Regions from separate parts of the Homo sapiens genome. Here region 1 is linked to region 2. The links are contacts of gene promoters, found by promoter capture Hi-C in blood cells and fetal thymus (Javierre and others, 2016). All regions are on one chromosome and are shown on one strand. The core of a region is centred on a gene start or on the middle of the fragment in contact, and the rest is flanking DNA. Distances in the headings are between cores, read along the strand shown.

Evidence for each region. The method cuts DNA at HindIII sites, captures the fragments that hold promoters and counts their contacts. A CHiCAGO score of 5 or more calls a contact.
Region 1: a contact is called between a fragment that was not itself captured here and the fragment with the promoter of CARINH in region 2, in 1 of 17 cell types (fetal thymus). The highest score is 7.1, in fetal thymus.

Annotation. Positions count from the first base shown.
Region 1 is chr5:132,958,429-132,962,861 of GRCh38, forward strand. All of the region lies in intron 1 of AFF4 (ALF transcription elongation factor 4), which reads right to left. Among named protein-coding and RNA genes, the nearest start is that of AFF4, 3.0 kb to the right of the region's middle. RefSeq lists an enhancer at 2,233-2,734. The HindIII fragment of the contact is 1,630 bases long and covers 2,161-3,790 here.
Region 2 is chr5:132,408,673-132,413,486 of GRCh38, forward strand. It overlaps CARINH (colitis associated IRF1 antisense regulator of intestinal homeostasis), which reads left to right and starts at 2,257. Exons shown (of 4, transcript NR_161242.1): 1 at 2,257-2,369. RefSeq lists an enhancer at 1,606-1,655 and silencers at 1,896-2,195, 2,266-2,555. The HindIII fragment of the contact is 5,230 bases long and covers 148-4,814 here.

The DNA.
Region 1 (4,433 bases), core at 1,726-4,225, 550 kb after region 2:
GCACTCCAGCCTGGATGACAGAGTGAGACCCTGTCTCAAAAAAAAAAAAAAAAAAAAAAAAGGAGCTACAAAGTGATGCAGAGATTGAAAGGAAGTAGATCACAACTGGAGTGGGGTGAAGAATTAACCAAAACTTCAAGAAGGCAATGAAACGTAAATCAGGCCTTTAAAAACGGTGAAATTTTAACAGGTAAGAAACAAGTTAGAAGAAATAATATTCCAATTGGAAGAAATGGAAGCAACTGCAAAAAGGTAAGAAGGTGTGTCTCTACAGAGTATTGGCTGGTACTCATCTCTCCATAAAACTGTCCCTTCCCTAATGATGACATGAAAAGGAAAAGTCATAACCCACTAGGCAACTCCAAACTGACAAAATCCTGGGAGAGCTATTAGGCCCAAAGCAACTCCAGGCAGCCCTGTCCCCGAACAGATCTCTGGGTAATCAAACCATACTGGCTTTCCAGTGCAGTCTATTCATGTCAGTCCCTGATTCCTCCTACCCAACAACCTTGGGAAAAGAATACATGAAGTTCTTTTACCTGTCCTAGGAAATGATTATTGAAGTAATTAGTTTAAAACAGTATCCACTAATAAGCTACGTTTCCTTGCCTAAAAGCCACCAACACAGTTCATTAAGAACTCCAAGAGAGAAAAAGTTACATAAAATGCCTTCTGTCAGAACATTCCTCAGGTTACAGATTTTTTTTTTTTTTTTTGAGATAGAGTCTTGCTGTGTTGCCAGGCTGGAGTGCAGTGGTGCGATCTCAGCTCACTGCAACCTCCGCCTCCCAGGTTCAAGCGATTCTCCTGCCTCAGCCTCCCAAGTAGCTGGGACTACAGGCGCCACCATGCCCAGCTAATTTTTGTATTTTTAGTAAAGACGGGGTTTCACCATATTGTCCAGGATTGTCTTGATCTCTCGACCTCGTGATCCGCCCACCTTGGCCTCCCAAAGTGCTGGGATTACAGGCATGAGCCACCGGGCCCGGCAAGGTTACAGATTTTTTTAAATAAAGAATAGCTGATAAAGCAGGTAGCTAAGATTTTTTTTCTTCAAAAATAGAATAGGTAGTTCTAGTATTAAAATGTTTTGGAATACTCTGGAATTGAATTTGGAGGTTCTAATATTTTCTGTGCCCCAGTATCGTTAAAACTTTCAAGATATGATACCAGCGAAAATGAACATCAAGACAAACAGGAATGCAGATGATGTGCCAAAACTCAGTAACTGGAACATATATTACTGCCCTCTTCCGTGTACTAGAGTATCACTTCAAATAACCAAGAAGGGTATGTATAGGGAGTTAACAACAAGTAGGAGTGCTTTTCTTTTTTTTTTTTTTTTTTTTTTTTTGAGACGGAGTCTCGCTCTGTTGCCCAGGCTGGAGTGCAGTGGTGCGATCTCGACTCACTGCAAGCTCCGCCTCCTGGGTTCACGCCATTCTGCTGCCTCAGCCTCCCAAGTAGCTGGGACTACAGGCGCCTGCCACCACACCCAGCTAATTTTTTGTATTCTTTTAGTAGAGACGTGTTAGCCAGGATGGTCTCGATCTCCTGACCTCGTGATCCGCCAGCCTCAGCCTCCCAAAGTGCTGGGATTACAGGCATAAGCCACTGCGCCTGGCCAGTAGGAGCGCTTTTCTTAAACCAAAGGAAAAAGCAGCAAGGTAACAGGTCAGGTTAGCTTTAGGCAGTCTTTAGTCACTACACCTTCTTTCACAATAACTGAGACTAGCTAACACCCTCCCAGAAATCAAATAGAATTGTTCCAACTTATCAGAGGAAATGAATAAGGGAATGGGTAAAACATAATAAGGATGCAGGAGAGCTGGGAACCTTTATATCATATAGAAAAGTCTTCATAGTGAGATATCTGTAGAATAAAGCTAAAGTAAAAAAAAATCTAAGTCATCAATTTTTTATAGTACATGCTGTACTTCTGGGTCATTGTCCAGGTGTGCTCTCAATACTTAAGAATACCTCTTTGATTTTATTAAAAATACCACAAAGAAAAGTCCTCATAGATTTTGAACTCCATTCTAAACCAGTGGATGGCCACAAAGGAAGAAATACCTGTTTTATTTGTTCCTCTCAGGTACACATAAAACTACGGCATTTACCTTACCTTCTCAAAAAAGGCAAAATATATAACTTTTAGAAAGCTTCATCTTCTGTCTCATCTTCTGAAACTGACAGGTTTTTCCCTTTCAAATACTGATCCTTTGCTCATACAGCTTTCTTTACATTACCTTTTTGTGAAATCTTAGATAAGTTGATAGAACAACAATTTCAAGTTCAAAATATTATCACATTCAAATTCAATCTAGTAATTGTGTAAAATACTGAGGAAGATAAAAAGAGGAATAAATATAGTACTTCCTCAAAGACCCTGTAACAGATCTGTAAGAAAATTATTATGCATCCCTCAATATCTGCAAGAGACAGGGAAAAAAAGAAAATTACAGTGCAAAACATATAGTAGGCTTCTGCTTGTTTGAGACATCGCCTAGGTTGGCCGGGCGCAGTGCTCATGCCTGTAATCCCAACACTTTGGGGAGGCCGAGGCGTGTGGATCACGAGGTCAGGAGTTCGAGACCAGTCTGACCAACCTGCTGAAACCCCGTCTCTACTAAAAATACAAAAAACATTAACTGGGAATGGTAGTGTGTACCTGCAATCCCAACTACTCAGGAGGCTGAGGCAGGAGAATCGCTTGAACCCAGGAGGCAGAGGTTGCAGTGAGCAGAGATGGAGCCACTGCATTCCAGTGGTGTGATCTCGGCTTACTGCAACCTTCGCCTCCCAGTTCAAGCGATTCTCAAGCGATTCTCGTGCCTCAGCCTCTGGAGTAGCTGGGACTACAGGCATGTACCACCATGTCTGGCTAATTTGGTTCTCATGCCTCAGCCTCTCAAGTAGCTAGAACTACAGGTGTGCACCACCACACCTGGCTAATTCTTGTATTTTTAGTAGAGACGGGGTTTCATTATGTTGGCCAGGATGGTCTAGAACTCCTGACCTCAGGTGATCCGCCCACCTCGGCCTCTCAAAGTGCTAAAGTGCTAGGATTACAGGCGTGAACCACCAGGCCCGGCTGCAGAATATATTGCTACAAAAAGGGTACAATAACTCAAGAGTACACAGAAGAGAATGTATCAACCTGAATGTGAGAATCTGACAAGTAGAAAGTGACTCAGAACAAAAATATTCAATCTTTAAGAATTCTTAATTACACAGCTTCACCTTACACTCCCAAACTGTAGATCATGTTCCAATTAACACAGCTGGGCTCTTTTTTCAGACACCCCATCTTGTCCCCACTTGAAGCAAAATTTTATTTAAAGTAAAATTTGCCTACTGTTTCTAGAGAGTTAACAAAAATCAAAGTACCAGCCTGCAAACCACCGCAAATTGAATGAAACTGCTGGTAATAAAAAAAGAAAAATTTGACTGCTTCCAGGTTTTTAGTAAGTTAACTCTGAAAGATAACTTAAAATAACTTACTGGGAATTTTTCTTATATTTAGGAGCTGAAAGATGCAGTGATAATAAGGAAAACGAATCTGAGAAATTTAAAGAAGCCAGCTTTGTTGAAAACCAAGTGGCCACTTGCCAACACTTCTTTATGCACGTATGACCAAAGATGATTCTAGGCAGACTCACAGACCACAAAGGCTCTTTATCAAATCCCAAATTAAGAAAGTTCTCATAAATATTTCAATTTTGATAAGTTAAAGACCAGTTAAGTTTTAAAAAGCACTTTATGAAGTGCAGAATCAATACAGAAACGAAGCTTTGCGCTTTTCATATCTGAGCCCGAAAAACAGCACACATTTTATGTTACATTTACAGTCTATTCACAGACACCTATAGCTTAGATTCCATCAAGAAAAACACTGGTCAATGGAAAAGTGACTGGCCTTAGTATAAAATTTCCATGTGGCCAGCAGGGAAGAAACCGCATAATTCTGAATTACAACTGACAAAACTACGAGAACCCTAAATCGAACTCTTCGCCTTGAACTCCATATACAAACATTTCAGATTCGTACTTCCACTTCCTGAAAATAATACTGTTTGTAAACGAAAAGGCAATAAGGTTACTCCCAAAACTCCTGTACTCCATGATCCATCCTCAAAGAGTGGAAGGAACAGCAAAGTAGAAGGAACAAAGCACTGACGTCAATTACGAGATTAACCCCAAGCACAGGCAGCTGGAGGAAAGGCCTAAACATCAATATCCACGCACAAGCTACTGGGATAACTAGGTAACAGACCGATTCAGAAGTTGTAGGGGAGGGTATTCGAGTATTATACCCCCACGTTCCCATTTTTAGTCAATCCCCTTCGCAAGTCGAAGGCGGAAATTTTTCCTTCTTTTTTTTTTTTTTTTGCGGGGGTGGGGGTGTGGGAGAGGTGCGCAGGATCGCGAGA
Region 2 (4,814 bases), core at 1,007-3,506:
TTCACTCTTCCGATTCTGATTTTAGGCTCACTAAGCCACCTTCTGACTATGGGGCTCCAAACTGCATGGCTACAAGAAGAGAATGTGTTCATCAGGTGGCCTCGAGTCCAGTGTTCCCGACAGTCTTGCTTCTAACAGGAATGGATAAGCTTCAGGTTTTGGGGTCAGATGGCCTTGATTCAAACCCTGCCACTAACATACATAGTAACTATGTGACCTTGGGATTTCCTTCATCTTTTTTTCTCCCAAATGAAAAATAAATAGATTATAATATACCACATGATAGTAGGGAGAAATAATGAGGTAATAATGCATGTAATGCATTTAGCATAGCACTTCTCTAGCAAATAGTGAATGAAATCAGTCAGTTGTCATTCTGACTTTATGCAACAGTGCTAATCGACTCTGGTACACTGGAAGTCAGATGAGATTTTTGGCCCCACAAAGTCAAGGACCAAACCTGGACCTTGGGAAGTTGCCAAGATGAAAAACATCAGGCCGGCCTTGACCTCCTGATGCTCTCTGTTCACATGTGTGATGTCTATAAAAGGTAACCAGGATTTGGCTTATCTGCTTACATCTCTTCCTGTCTTTTCCTGATCTTCATCTTCCCAAACATAGTTTTTATGCAGAAGCAGATTTAACTCTACTTTGCTATCTTGGAGTCAAGAATTGTCCTATAAGGAGGAAGAGGCTCCAAGGCTTGCCTTTTTTGTTTTTTCTTTTTCCTTCATACTACAGACTAAAAGTAGCATCTTCTGGACAGAGAAACAGGCTGTTGTTTTTCTAAGGTCATCATTTGGCCTGCCCCACTTTCCCACCTGCTCTTGAGGGAACTATTGCAAGGACACATACAAGCCCCTACATCAGTCACAGACCAGGGCCTCCATCTTGCAGGGAATGTGCCCAAATTACAAACAGGTAAACCAAAGTGACTCTGGGCAGATTTAATAGCTCATTTTGGTTTCTTGTTCCAGTTATAACAGACTGCTCTGTGTTTGCTCTATGGCAAAAACTTTTATGTTTGCTTTGCAACAAACGTACAGACAGGGCAAACTGTGTTTGGAGTATGGTGTCTTACCAATGTTTTCTAAAAGCAAGTGAATAGAAATGCTTGCAAAAGTATTTTCAGACCTCAGTGGCCAGCGCTGAACACCGCTGTAGGAATGTCCATCAAACGTTGTGGCCATGCTCCACTCTAACAAAAACCTGGTTCCGTGGCATAATTGTGGGGGCTAATTGTCAGGCTAAGTTTCAGACACCTTCCAAAAAAAATTGCAGGGCTTCCTCAGTCTTTAAACTCCAGATAATATTGTCCAAACTTTGACAACTAACCTGTTATCATGGAGATAGCTCCAAGTTGATGGACTGGCCATTAGAGAATGTCTATCAAGCATCCAGGTAAATGACTTGGTTGCTGCCCTCAAGGAACCCACTTAGAGGCTGTCAGAAAATTTTAAGTATTTTCTTCCTTCTATTGTTCATTCCTAAAATTCTGGCAGTAGGTATGATTATTATTATTCCCATCCCACAGGGGAAGTAATTAAGTCTAACTACTTGAATATTTTGCCCCAAATCACTGACAGTAAGAGACGGCCAGACACTGAAACCTGGAATCTCTAAATGTTTAGATATTGATGGGCACCGCTTAGACCAGGGAGTCCAAACCATAGGCTTGCTGTTCCAGTTTCTCTTATCGGATGAAGGGACCCCCATTTCACCGACGTCATTGACTTTTGGGTTCTCCGCTGACCCCAGATGAGATGCCTGGTACCTCATGGTCAAGTCCCCTCCAACGGGGACTCCTCAGAGGCTTGGTCCCAGTTGCTCAGGCTGCCATCTGCCTCCTCAGGCCAGAGCCCGAGGCGCCGCCAGCGGTCAGGTCCCGGGCCGGCTGCCAGCCACAGGCCCAAGTAAACGCTGAATGAAGGGCAGATGGAGGAACCTGTCCCGGTCGGCCGAAGCGCCGCGGGCGCCTTTCCACTTACGGCGGGCCTGCCCAGCCTCCCGCCCAGCCCGGGCCCGGGTCCCGCCGAGGCAGGTGTGCGTGGCGGACTAGCTCTCGGGCACTCGGCTGGCCCAGCTCCACCCCGAACGCCACCGGGCCAGGCCACGCGCAGACCCGAGCCCGGGGCCCCCGCCTCTGGCTGCCGGCCCGCGCCCGCCGCGCGCCCCGCGTTCACTGCGCGCTCGGCCCCGGTCCCGCCTCCCGGAGGGTTTCGCTTTCGCTTTCCTGCCGATGTCGTTGAGGAAAATGAAAGCGGTCGTGGCCAGGACTGGCGCAGCTGCCGTTTCAGGCGAGGGGCGCAGAATGCAGCGGCCGCCAGCCTGGAGCGCGGGCCCTGGGGCCGCAACCCGCGCCGGGCGAGGTAAGCACAGCCCCTTCGCGGCCGCCTCGCGGGCTCCTCCTTGCGGACCCGGCGGGCCCGACGCCAGGCGTTTGACCCGGGCAGGGTCAGGGGTTCTGCCGTGGGGGCGGGGAGGGCCTGAGAAGCGGCACCCTTGGGTTTCGTGGCTTTGAGCCTCCAGGCCAGGCTGGAAGACCTGGGAGGCCTCAGACAAGCGTGCCAAGGGGCTAGCAGCCCGGGGTCGAGCTGGAACCGTGGCAAGTCGGGCCACCTGAGCACGCCTTTCCCTTTTGTAGAGCACCGACCTCCCTGGGTGTTGGTAAAAATCAAAAGTGGGAGGGTGTACGTAAAATGCTGAACAGAATGCCTAACCTGAGCTCATAATCTACTCCCTCTGACCTGTCAGACTCATTTTTCCCACTGGGCCCCACCCCATACCTCATGTAGTTTGCTTAAGTTTCCTAGATCTGGTGCACCTGGGGGCACTTGGAGTGCCTTCCAAGTGTTCCTTGACCGAGCAAGCTGGCAGCTCATCTCCCTTGATCACGGGCATGGAGAGCAACTAGGCCAGGATGTGGCCCCCTTGCCCTGGCCCTGTCCATGTGAAGTCAGGGCCTTACTCTGCTGGGGCCCCCATCCCGGGGCTAGCATAGATGTCAGGGATAGGTGCACTCACAGACCGAGTCCTTCCCAGACCAGGAAATTTCCAGTCCACTGCATCTGCCAGCAGAAGCATGAAAGATGCGTGCCACCTTGTCTTTGCCCTTCGTCAAGTATAGCCAACTCATTCTTGGTATGCAGGAAGGGGGTTCCACCCCAGGGCTGTGGAAACAGCCCCTGCCCTTAGGGCGTTCCCATCCCCTGAAGAGAGAAAATATGTATTCAAGTTACCCATCAGGCAGGTTGTGTAGAACAAGGACAGGTGAGTGAAAGAGCTAAGAGCTGAGAGTAAAGTGACTAAATCATCAGAAACTTTACATTTAAGTTATGACAGGTTTTGCAGGCCAATACCAAGAATCCCCTTTAACTCAATTTTTGTCTCAATAATAATGAATTCAGCCTAATCACACAGATCTGATCATACGGCCCATTACTGAAACAAAACTTGAATGATCTTTACTTTGAGAAAACCATCTGAATTTGACAAAAGATGGTCTAAGTTCCTAAGTTTCAAAACATGGAGTCCGCCGCTGCCCTACCTCAGCAGGATGGTGTTGAGTACTGATTGCTTTTAGAAAATGCTGCTCTTGCCGGGCACGGTGGCTCACGCCTGTAATCCCAGCACTTCAGGAGGCCGAGGCGGGCTGATTACCTGAGGTCGGGAGTTTGAGACCAGCCTGACAAACATGGAGAAACCCCGTCTCTACTAAAAATACAAAATTAGCCAGGCATTGTGGCACATGCCTGTAATCCCAGCTACTTGGGAGGCTGAGGTAGGAGAATTGCTTGAACCCGGGAGGCGGAGGTTGCAGTGAGCCAAGATCGCGCCACTGCACTCCAGCCTCGGCAACAAGAGCTAAACTCCGTCTAAAAAAAACAAAGAAAGAAAAAAAGAAAATAGAGAAAATGCTGCTGTTTTCATGAGCCAGAAAATTAGATGCACTTCCATTCACATTCCATTGGCATGGACTAGTCTCATGGGTCTCACCTAATTGTAAGGTGGCTGGGAAATGTAGCCTGGTGGTGTTCCCAGGAGGAAAAGAACGAGAGACTGGTGAGCACTAGTAACCTCTTCCACAATCGACTAATGTGGTGAATTACTTTATCATGATGTATTTGTAATACACTTTCGTATTTGATTAGATAATATTTTATTTAGGAGTTTAACATCTATGTTTATAAGTGAAACTATCCTGTATTTTTCTTTATTTGTACAGTCCATATTTAACATTTCAAAATCAAGTAACAAATTGGGCAATGTTTTCTCTTTTTTTCTATTTTCTAAAGCAACTCCATTAAGATAGAGATTTTCTGCTCCTTGGAAGTTAGTAGGAGGCACTTGTAAAATCTTCTGGGTCTGAAACTCTATGGGGAAGAGGTTTCAAAATTATTTGAGTCTCTTAAGTGGTTATTCACATTTTTGTGCCAAATTTGGCAATTTTTATTGTCTAGAAATTATTCATTTCATCTGTATTTTCAAATGTATTATCATGTGTTTATATTATTCCTTTATAAGTTTTAAAATGTCTGTTTTATTTGTCATTTCTTCCTTTTTCTGTAATCTCATTTTTAAAAAATCTTCTGTCAGTTATTCTTGATCAGTCTCACTAGAGGTTTGTCTACTTTCAAATAAATACTTCAAGTTTTGTTAACCACCTTTTTTTTGGTCCTCTATGTCCTCTATTTTGCTGATTCTGCCCTTATGTTTATTATTCCATTTTTTCATGTTTCTTTAGTCATATGCTTTTGTAATAAATTCAAACAGTATAGACATTTGTAAAGTGAGACAGGAAAGTCCACTTCAGC